Regions from separate parts of the Homo sapiens genome. Here region 1 is linked to region 2. Evidence: promoter capture Hi-C in 16 types of primary human blood cells and fetal thymus (Javierre and others, 2016). All regions are on one chromosome and are shown on one strand. The core of a region is centred on a gene start or on the middle of the fragment in contact, and the rest is flanking DNA. Distances in the headings are between cores, read along the strand shown. Region 1 has its middle 37 kb from the start of GLYATL1. Region 2 holds the start of CNTF (ciliary neurotrophic factor).

The links. Contacts are between HindIII fragments. The CHiCAGO score rates a contact against its expected background, and 5 or more counts as called.
Region 1: a fragment that was not itself captured here is called in contact with the fragment with the promoter of CNTF in region 2 in 1 of 17 cell types (megakaryocytes); the score reaches 5.2 in megakaryocytes.

The regions. Positions count from the first base shown.
Region 1 is chr11:58,899,226-58,905,067 of GRCh38, reverse strand. It overlaps a transcript of GLYATL2 not described here. Among named protein-coding and RNA genes, the nearest start is that of GLYATL1, 37 kb to the left of the region's middle. The HindIII fragment of the contact is 1,454 bases long and covers 2,823-4,276 here.
Region 2 is chr11:58,619,428-58,625,279 of GRCh38, reverse strand. CNTF (ciliary neurotrophic factor) reads right to left here and starts at 2,615. Exons shown (of 2, transcript NM_000614.4): 1 at 2,414-2,615; 2 at 1-1,246. The coding sequence starts at 2,527. The coding sequence ends at 758. ZFP91 (ZFP91 zinc finger protein, atypical E3 ubiquitin ligase) reads right to left here. Exons shown (of 11, transcript NM_053023.5): 11 at 3,730-5,852. It overlaps ZFP91-CNTF (ZFP91-CNTF readthrough (NMD candidate)), which reads right to left. Exons shown (of 13, transcript NR_024091.1): 12 at 2,414-2,514; 13 at 1-1,246. The HindIII fragment of the contact is 9,454 bases long and covers 1,128-5,852 here.

The sequences.
Region 1 (5,842 bases), core at 2,300-4,799, 280 kb before region 2:
ATGAAGACTCCAGAGTTGGGTATCTCCAAAGTGATAATCAAGTAAGTGCTTTGCATGGGGCTTGAGAAAACATCTTACTGTTTAAGAACAGAACGTCTTACTGTCTAAGAACATGAATAGAAGGAGATGCCTTCAGTATTGAGTGTTATTTTTGAGAAGTTGGTCAAAGAAGGGGAGAAGATGGTGGATTAATAGATGATGGTGAAAATTATTTTGTAACTCATAGAAGGACAGATGTTTATGTAAAAGTTGATAGTTTTGGTGGAATCATGAGCATGTTTCTGAACTTAATGTAAAATACACAGAGACTCCTGAAATCACTTAAATTACACGGGTCTTGTGGTGTTTGGAAAGAGCAAACTTTAGAAGTGTAATTGTAAAAATAATATCAAACAGAAACAGGGAAGAGAAAAACGTAAAGACAGCTTTCTCAAATCGCTGTTATTCTTGAATCATCTGAAAGCAGTGCACATGACTGGCACTAATATGCATCGGAGAGTAAATCATTGCACAAGGAGACTTGATCTTCTTTTCATTGTAGAATCTGGAGGAAAAAAGCTGTTAAAAGCAAGAGGTGGTAGAGAATAGTATTGTCGAAAGTTTCTGACATCACTGGAGATAGAGAATTTTCCCTGGAAAAAAGTGCTCCTTAGGGAGGAGCATCTGCACATTCCATTAGCATAAAGCACCTGGTCGGCCATATGAAGAAGTCTGGATTTTGTTATAAATATGAAATTTATTTTAAATGGAGGATTTGTAGCAAGGAGTAATATAACCTGACATATTTTTAAAAATCTCTCTGGCAGCTGCGTGGGGGACAAACTCTAGGAGGACAATAGGAGGTGTGGAAGGGAGAAGATGGCTAAGAGTATATCCCAGGATTGCAAAGATGTCGGAGCCCAGCCTCAGACGGTAATGGTGGAGGTGTTAGAAAATGCTGAATTCCACATTTATTTTGAAGGGCGAGCCCATGGAATTGGCTTGTGAATGGGGTTTTCCATAAATAAGAGAAAAAGAGAGCTCAATATGATTCTTGGGCTTTTGACTTGAGCAACTAGAAAGATAAAGTCTGCATTAAGTGATATGGGGAAGTCTGAGGAAGGAGATGCTGTGTGTGCCAGGAGTGATGAGTGTGTCAGTAATTCTACTTTTGATATATTGACTTGGAGATACTAATCCACTCCAACTGAAAAATAAGGAGAGAAGTGGACACTCAACACATGCGGGTGAATGCCCAGAGAGCCTTAAGAAGGGGCAAGAGGCTGAACTTGGGAGAGAAGAGCATAGATCAAAATAAAAGACACACAAAAGGAGAAAGAGAGGGAAACTAGGACTTATGATGGTAATGTTGGCCATTAACTGAGAATTATTTTATTTTATTTTATTTTGTTTTTTGAGACAGAGTCTTGTTTTATTGCCCAGGCTGGAGTGCAGTGTTACAATCTCAGTTCACTGTAAGCTCAACCTCCTGGGTTTAGGTGATTCTCATGCCTCAGCCTCCTGAGCAGCTGGTATTACAAGTGCCTGTCACCACGCCCGGATACTTTTTGTATTTTTAATAGAGATGGAGTTTCACCATGTTGGCAAGTCTGGGGTCGAACTCCTGACCTCAGGTGCTCTGCTTGCCTCAGCCTTCCAATGTGCTGTGGTTACAGATATGAGCCACTGCACCAGGCCTGAGAAATATAATTAAAGTACAGGGAAAATTAAAAGGGAGAAGAAAGTTCACAGAGAGAGATCATGGCAAATGATAAATACAAAATCCTGCCTTGTTTCCCAGATTCCCTGTGTCTTAGGTGCCCTGTATTTTACCTCCCCTTGAACCACTCTTGTCCCTTTGTAATGGTACTCCAAGCAGCACTGCTGTACACCAATTCCAGAGCTTCCCTGCTCCTTGAGCCTAGGAATAGCTATGCTTCTAATTCCTCTTCATTTGCTCATCATTGGAGTAACAGCTGAACCACACAATTGGAATAAGTAACCTGACGTCATTTTTAGTACCAATCTTCCATTTCTTCCTTAAGTATAAAAGTGACCCTCACAGAGAAACTAACTACCTAGAGCTATAGGTCCAGAGTAGAGCTCTAGCTTTGATTTTCCTTTTGCAGCTATGGTCTGAGAGCTTGGATGCAATCCACTGCAATTTGATATCAGTGACAGGGTAGGGATGCTCAGGGAATCTGTTGAGCCACCAAGGAAGCCTCACTTTCAGCTAATGCTTACATGGGGCTGTGGAAGTTGTCCAGCATCCCTGAGGACAGAGTGTTTGCCCTGAAAAAGAACATTCCCTTGGCAGAAAGCATCTTGTTGGCTGGATTTTATTATAAATGTGATGAGAATACTTTTGGCCAAGTAACTGGTCGTTGGGTCATTTTGTGGTAGTCAAACCCACAAAGAAGAAAAGCCCTCACATGGTCGGGTGAGGTGGGAATGGATCAAGCACTAAGGCCAGGTCTGGTGAAGTTAGGGAGTAAGGCCAGTGTTTATGGAAAGGGATTCCTTCATGAACCCCTAAAAGATGCTTCTAAACTCTAACAGTAGGCTGATGTCTGTATTTAGAGTTGCAAACAACATGTTCTGGGAATACAGAGGAAGGCACCACTGCCTCTACCTTGGGAGTATATCACAGAGAATGAGATTTATATTTGGACTTGATGGATGAGAGATGAGTAGGAGTTTGACAGAAGAAAAGAGTGGAACTGTCTGGATGTACAATGGCAGAAGTGGCAGGAAGGACTGAGGAGAATTGGCTTCTGGGGATGTGTCAGACATAAGGGCCTGGGCACCACATAATGGAGCTTGCAATGGGGTATGTGAAAGCTTAGATGAGATGGTTTTTTTCCTGTCCTCCTGTGGGTTCATAGTGGGCTCACCTCACTCACTCCTGCTAACAACCTGCCCCTATTGATAGATAGCTGAAATGGGGTCTCTAAGCCTCCAGCAACAGCTTAGGAGCCAGCCTTGAAGTACTGGCAGCTAACACTTCCCATATAGACCCCGTAGTCCATCCTATCTTAGGAAGACAATGCACTCATGGGGATGGTAACATCCACCTCCAGACTCCAGAGGCTCCAAGGAGCCTCTCTCTCTCTTCAAGTAAAGAAATATTCACTGAGCTGTGTGTAGAGGTTTACATGGTTTGGGACCAACATGTGGCTGGGTGACTTCACTTCCATCCTCATACAGTGGTACTCGGAGATGAATGGGGGGTAGAGTGATCAAGATTTAGTTCAATGTCTACCTCCAGTGGGGCAGTGCTTGGTAGTTGACTCATTTTGGTCTCTTTTGATGTTCACAGTCACCCATTGAGGTAGGTGTGACTGTTGATCCCATTTCACAGATTAGGACAGGATAATTTGCTAGAGGTCACAGGACTAGTTGGGGGAGGGAAAGGCTGTCAGGTAGGATTTTAACCTTAGAGCTTCACGTTTTCTTAGGATCTTGCAGGGAGACCTTGAGCAAATTCCTTTCCCTCTTGGTGGGGGTGGGGGAAGTCTCCATTCCCTAAGTATAAATTAAAGAGATCTGCCAGTTTGTGATTCTCTTTACTTTAAAGTTCAACCGTATCACTTGGATAGGTGTTTTGTTTGTTTGTTTGTTTGTTTTAATGGGGATTCTGGGAACCCAAATATATTTAAGTTCAATAGGTCTGGGGTGAGGCCCAGTAATCTGCAGCTTTTAACAAATCCGGACATCAACATAACTACCTGAGAAACTCAAGCAAAATGTATGATGCATGAAAATCTTATTGTGAGCTGGTCAAAACACATATCGCTGAGCTCCATCGGTAGAGATCCTGTTTTGATACCTTTGGTTGGACTGTGGCTCGGTAATTTGCATTTCTTAGAAGTGAGTCCGTTCAGCTGGTCAACCGCCCCGCCTGTCTCTCTGTGACCCTCCCAGGGCGTCAGCGGTGCTTTTTTACTTGCATCTTGTGGGAAAAGGATCCGCGCAGGCAGCCCCCTTTTAGCACCGTCCTGAGTACACAAGCCAAGCGCTTAAATACCTCACTCAGCCCTGGATTTGCAGTTACTCAGGGCAGGCGAAGGCGCGTTTCCGCGTTTGGTATATTCCCGCGTGCTGCCAGCTGATGGCGCCAGAGAACTAACCTACTGGAATAGGGAGGAGAAAAGAAGCAGGGAAGAAAAGCGGGAGGTGAAGATTAAGGCCAATGGTAGCTTCCGTTCTTGGACTCGAAGATTCCCTTAATGGGTTGACATCAATGAAAGCCAATGGTAGCTTCCATGAAAGCCAAAGCTGACCACCCCCCCAAGCTTCCCATTCTCTTAGGAGGCTGCATTTTGGGTGCTAAATGGAGGGATGGGCGTGGGAGATGCTGGGACATGTGTTGGCTGAAGATACACCTGTTAGTCCAAGGTTGCTTCGGCTCATAGTGGCTCAACCCTCTTTGTCAATTAACCTTCTCAGTTAACTAAGGCTGCCTCACCTGTCTTTAGGCAAACCTACCCCCCGTCACGCTGGGTTTTTAGAGTTTTTAAAAGCGTCACGGTGTAAGGCCAGCGTTGCTTTTCGTATTCTTAGCGGGTATTTCTGGTGCTGACAGCGGGGAGCTGCCGGGCGGGAGTAGGAGTGGAGAGAGAATAGGGAGAGAGATAACAGGTGTGAAGCGTCTCTCAATGCCAGGCATCCTGCTTTCGCACCTTCCATAGGTTTTTTCGCAATCGTCTTTCTATTTAATCATTTTCTGTTTCATAGATTAGGAAACCTCAACTAAGTTGCCCAAGGACAGCCCTTGAATAATTTTATCTTCTGTCAGACACCAAAGCCTAAGGTCTCTTATTTTGCAGAGGCTGCTTTGTCAGGATTTCAATGCATGCATGTCCTGCGAATCACTGCTCCTCACTCACTGATCCATCCTGCTGTCCACGCGTTCATTCACTCATTCATTTCTTAGGGGTCATCTACAAGGCATGGGGCTAGTTGCAACTAAAAATACAAAAGAAAAGGGACTCTGCTGTAAAGCAGAGGAGGTTTTTTTAAATGATTTACACAGAATTCCGGTGCTCCGCATGGTTTCGATCTCCCCCCACCCCCCAAAATACTACTGATACCTATTTTGTTCCACACAATTCGATGGACTCTGAAAATACAGAGAGGGGTGAAATCTATCCTTGCCTTTCAGGAGCTTATTGCCGTACGCAAGAGTAATCTCTGAGCTTTAATTTTACATACCAAATTTTTAACAAATTGAGCATCAACTATATATGTATGTGTGTGTATATATATATATTCTGTTGTAATTAACATGTTAAATAAATATTAGGCACACTTAATTTCTTATTTTTTAGATGAAGATGAATCTAAATGCTGGTTCAAGTATGTCCTTTGTTCACCCTAGTGGACCATCTTGGGTGATTCCTGGAGTGCTTTCTCAGACTGCAACCCTAACCCGCTGGTATGTGCTTGGCTCTGTTCCTTCTTTCTGCAGCTGTCTGTCAAATGCCAGTCTTTTGTGGAGGCCCGTCCTAACCCCTTCCTGTTTCCTCTCCTTTTTGTCTGCTCGTATCTGAGGCCTCTTTTCCTATTTATTTGTTGTTCTTTCTCCCTCCATCATCTTCTGTCGTCAAATCATGTGTTGTTTTTCATATACTACACCTGAGTTTATAGGAAATATGTTTACTGTTTTTGTTTTTTTAATTTTTGGTTTAGTTTCTGCCTCCCTGCTCCAGAATGTAAGCTTCAAGAGGGGCAGTGAGGAGTTCTTAACACCCCACACTGACTGAGAAACGGTTGGGAGTGGAGGGAGACAGCTTTGCCCTGTACATCCTGAAATCCCCTGAGGTGGGGGTGGGAGTGGAGGGAAGATCAGGGAATGTCCATT
Region 2 (5,852 bases), core at 1,366-3,865:
GGAATAGATTACATGGATGCATCTTCCAACACCCTGTGACAAAGAGGTGCAGTGATTCATGATCAAGCCTCTAAAGTGAAAGGCACATAGGCTTTTACAAGGAGAATGATCTGTGTTCAAACTCAGTGTGCTACTTGTTAGCTGTGTGAGCTTAACCAAATCTCTGTGAGCCTGTTTTCTCATCTACCTAATGGGAGTAACACCACCTTGCTCACAAGGTTGTAAACGCTGTACATAATATACATAAAGACCCTTGGCATACTGCCTTAATATAGAAGATAATAAAAGTTAGCCATTATTATTCTTATTCTCTAAGAGTTTAAATCAACTAAAGAGTCTGATTTTAAATTGAATCTTCTCAGACCGAGTCATCCAGGACTAGAATTAACATATGTATATTCTGTCTGTAAGGCAGTTAAATGCCTGTAGAGGTTACTTAGTGGGTTAGAAAGGTTAGAACCCTGAAGTGGAAGGACGTTGTCCCTGCTCCCACTCTCTTACACCTGCAGCACATGCAAGCACGCACACAAATCACACCCCCCAGGCTAAACTTGTATGCCCATTTGTGTATGTCTCCAACGCTACTTGATGAAAATACCTGTAGTCCTTCAACAGGCTGCAGGTGGTCAGAGAAAAAAGAAAGAAAATGCCTGTTGTCTTAACTGTTTTTAGAAATTTAAGATGGGAAAGCGAGGCCCCAGGGAACTACGCATATTCCATTAGAAGAGAAAGCAAGGAAGAGAGAAGGGACTAACTGCTACATTTTCTTGTTGTTAGCAATATAATGGCTCCCACGTGCTGGGATCCCAGTCTGATGAGAAGAAATGAAACGAAGGTCATGGATGGACCTTACTGTCCACTGTGAAAGCTCCTGCAGCACCTTTAGGCCCCACAGCTTCTTCTCAAAGAGACCACCATCTCCAACATTAATAGGCATCCCATCAGCCTCATTGCGGGGGATCTTGTATTCCAGGAGTATCATTAACTCCTCTATCTGGTATGCAAAGGCAGCGACTTGGAGAAGAAGGGTATGTATAGCTTGATGGAAGTCACCTTCGGTTGGGGTAAAATGCACCTGCTGGTCTTCTAAGAGCCTGGCCAACAAAACATGGAAGGTACGATAAGCTTGAAGGTTCTCTTGGAGTCGCTCTGCCTCGGTCAGCTCACTCCACTGATCAGTGCTTGCCACTGGCATCCCATCCGCAGAGTCCAGGTTGATGTTCTTGTTCAGGCCCTGATGCTTCACCTGGCCGAGGATACAGGAAAACACCACATCTTCTGTCATCACCCCAGTGTCCTTAAATCACCCCTAAATTTCATACAAAATCTCACTCATCTCTCTGGCCAAGGATCCAAGTTGTAAAGTAAATAATATGTCTACAGTAGGAACTCTTAATTTGGGCTCTATGACTGGACTTTAGAAAGACCCAATACTGCCTGAAATTGACTACCTATGGATTTTTCTTAGAAGAATGTTCAGATTTTATTGAGTTCTAAAGGTTGAAAACTGATTTAGAAGAATTTTTCCTTCTCACTTCAAACTCTCTCATTAACTGGAATATTTTAATCATATTAAAGTATTTTTAAACATACTTGTAAAAGACACTGGCCACAACTAGGAAAACTTGGAATATAGCCATTGTAGAATTTCTCTAACTTCCCTCTCCCCATTGAGCACTCCCAAAGAGTCTGATTTCTGTCTGGTGAGGCTGTACAAAGATAAATCAGTTCTCAGCCTAAATTCAAAACTCTCCACAGGGGTTGGAGTATTTCCACAGCATATCTCAGGTGGAAATTGATGGGGATCCCCTTACTGTTAGAAGACAAATCTGGAACTCCAGAATTAGCTCAAGAATTTGACACTTCCACAAGTTTCCAATGAATCTTCTAGGAGATCCTTTTGATAGCTTACCTTTCTCTTTAGACACAATCTACTTTTGATGCAGAATACTAAAAGGTGGGTGGCTAATGCTATATAGGAGAAATTGGTAGGATTTACAAATTCCTCCCACGTTCATAGTACTCTTCCTATCCCATAAACCTTTCATTTACATAGCTAAAAAATTCAGAACAATGGCTATGAAGAACCCAGAGGGCCCATGGCTAATCTGTTCTAGTAGTATTCAGAATATATGCCAATAAATTTGGAATAGCCTCCAAGACATATAAACCAATCCTTTCTAGAACTCCATATATATTTTCTCATTCAAGTAACTTCATCTCCTAAACAGCCCAGAGGAAGAAAATAAAGTCACATGGGTTTCCTCAAGGGAAGGGCCCATGTCAAATAACCTATATGAATGACTATATGATTAGAGCTTTCACAATTGGTAATGGAGCTGATGCGTGATGGTAAGTTGCTGGATCAAAAAAGATGAAGGGAAAACAGATAACAGCAAAATAGGCAACTTACATAGGATTCCGTAAGAGCAGTCAGGTCTGAACGAATCTTCCTTGCTAGCCAGATAGAGCGGCTACAGAGGTCCCGACGGTGAGGGGTCAGCGGTGAATGCTCTGTGAAAGCCATCCCTTAACTCAACTGTCCCAGGAAACAAGTCAGCTGGGTTTACTTCTGTCTATACTGGTCCAAATAAGAGATGTGACTCTCAAAGACTAAACCCACTGGGCATTCTCTACTAATGGGATTGTGCACCCCACCCCCACGCCCTGCCTGACTCAGAGGAGGTAGCAAATTCCTGGCTGTGGATTTTTGTGCCTGTGGAATCAAAGGGCCCTTTTTAATCAGATTTTTTTTCCCCTGCAGCGTCTGCCTCCATCTCTCTCCTCCACTCAGTACTTAGCACACTTGTTTCTATGTCATTGTTTTGCTTTTGCACTTAGCAACAAGGTCACTATCATACCAATCCTCATGGCACCCCTGCCTAATGTAATCTATCTCACACACTTAGAATTAGTTCATTTTATTATCATTCTCCCTTATGCTTCCCATGTCTTTTTTCTCATAGGCTGGCGAAATGTTCATTCAATAAAATTGTTATTGACACAGCTGCCATTTATTAAGTATCTACCATGGGTCAGTCAGTAAGCTAAATACTTTAAAGCAATTCCATTTGATCTTCAGAATATTTCTGAGGTAAATGTTATTTCTCCATATAAGAAACTGAAACTTCAAGAAATAACATGCACAAAATCAAGTAACGAGGCTTGAATTTAAATAGAAGTCTGATTCTATAGTTGTCTCTCCCACTGACTTTCCAATTTCATTTTCTGTTTAGGTAGTTCACATCTTGTTCAAGAAACAAAGGGTGTGTGAAGTCCTTTAAAAACAGGATTTTTTTCACTCCTAACCTTACGTACTTTTTAAAGGTAATTTAATTTATACTTAAAAATCAAGCAAGGAAGCATCTCTAATTTCAATCACGGTGCCTTCCTGGTAGCTACATAGGAGGAGGAAGGTACTGTTTAGGCCTGTTCTCTTCCAAAGAACAGGAAACACCCAACGCTAACTTGGTAACATTTCTAAAGCAGTCTCACTCAAGTGACAACATGCTTTCCTTTTTTCTCCCCTACCCAGTCATACCACATGCTTCTTAAAATAAGAGAATGAGCTGGGCTTTGAAATGACAGTATAAAAGTTAAAAGGTACTTGGAGGGTTGTCATTCTATTGCATTTAACTTAGAAAATGATGCTTATTGGGTAAGGGCTAAATGAAATAATTAGCTTTCATTATTTATATCATAGATATTGCCAATAAGCTGAAACACATACCATCTTAGAAGCAAATTTATAAAAGTAAACAATAAATGGGAGATGTAACAGAGCAGCCTGGGCAGCTATCACAGCATGGCTTTTGGAAGGCAGAAGGATTATAGTTTTTTCTTTTTTAAAATAAAAATCAGTACTTGATATAAACATTCAATTTTGAGAAGAAGTATTAATATTAAATGCTATCAAGGTTTTGTCATTATCAGGGTAAAATTAACCTCACATAATCCTTAATTTTCCATCTACTAGGTTAATTAACATATGGCCAGTTTTCCTAGGAGGCAGTTGTCAAAACATCAAGATTTCCAAGTTTGCTGAATAACAGAATCATGTCATTTCAGCATTAGAAATCAAGAACAGTCAAAAATTAACCACCTGATTCTCAACAAAAGCAAACAATAGTATGCCCCACATAACACCTGTTCTGAGGGCATTTGGTTTGCTTAGCAGCATCACATGTTTCACCCCTAGGATAACTGTAACTCAGTACAACCAAGGAAGACAAGTTGCTTCCATGAAGACAACTTTTATTTTTCTTCTTTACATATTTATTTTTAATATGCCTTACCTAGAATAAGAGAAAACAAAGATTTGAAAAGCAAAGTATCCCTTTTATTATAATTTCTTTTTACATAACCTTTTCAACCTATATTCAGGTAACTACCTGTCTCTCCCATGAAAGGAGAAGGGTCCTGCACATTACAACAGGCAAAAAAGGCTTTTAAGAAATAAAATATTTTAAATTGATCCATTACATTTGTTCAATTTTCTTGAGTACATTGGAAAGTGGGAAAAACACAAAAGGAGAAAAAAATGGTATTTCAAACAACCAGACTATAATAATCTTAGTTAGATTGGTAGTACACTCATTATACTTTTTCCCCAAACAGGTACAAAGGAGGTTCAAGTGCTCTATGTGGATGCTAGTCTATACCTCGATATTTTTATTTTACTCCCAGTACTCCCACGGCCATGGCCAGTGTTTGCCTAAATTCTCTGAAGCATATCAAGGAGTCTCAGTTACGCAAAACAACCTTGGGCAACCACAAAGAAGAGGGATGCACATCTCCCAGAAATATTAAATAGCTGTATCTCAACTACAGTTTCAGAATTTAGAACCACCAATTCAAGATGGAAATATGCAGTGGGAAGAGTTATTAAAAAGGTAACAGAATTTGACTAAGAGCATGAAATGTAGAACTTTAAGATTAAAAGAGCTCCCTGGAAGGACAATGAGGCATATGGAGCAGAAGGGAAAGCAGGGAAACGGCTGAGATAGTTTAATTACACCAACTCTACTATGCAGCATCCCTTTATCAAAAGGAAAAATATAAAGTCTATAAAAAATATTTTAGTATTGCAAACTGCTGCAATAATTTATTGTAGGCAAATGGTAGCTATAAAGAGGGTCCTTGACCCCTAAAAGAAAAGAAAAAGTACAGCAAGTTTCTAATTAGTAGAACTAACTAGTTGTTTTTTTGTTGGGAGAGCGGTATAGGAAAGGAGAATACATTTTCTCCCATCTCAGAAAGATTTTTAAAAATGCAGTTTGCTTTTGTGTAGGTGGCTAAAATATCTGATGACTAACCACTGCAAATGAAATTTACGGAGACAAAGGATAAGTGTGACAAAAAAGCTAAGTGTGGAATATAGATGCTAGTTAGTCAAAAAGTGTAAAAGGGACCTGAGAGGAGGACAACTTTTTTGTAGATTCATCTAATCAATCTTGTATTTTCAAATCTAGTCAATATACCAAAGTCGACTCCAAACCATGTTGGCAGGAAAGCATATTCTACATCCCTTCTATCTTTATTCCATTTTCTATCCCCATATTATGGAGAAATGGCAAATCTGCAACACTCTGAAAAGAAACAATAGCGCATTTGAGACTGGTGATTGTAGGTGTCTCACTCTCTGTTCCCTGGCATCCCAAATGCTGACACTAGTTGGTATAAAGTAAGCCTCTTTCAGAAATGACATTTTGTTACTCCTCTTTTTGGGAAAAAAGAATTCTTTGAAAAAATTGATAAGCCATGTTTGTGAAACACAAACTGTTCTTTTTTTTTTTTCCAGCAAAACGTCATTCTTTCCAAGAGCCATCATGCATTTCTGACAATAAACAATG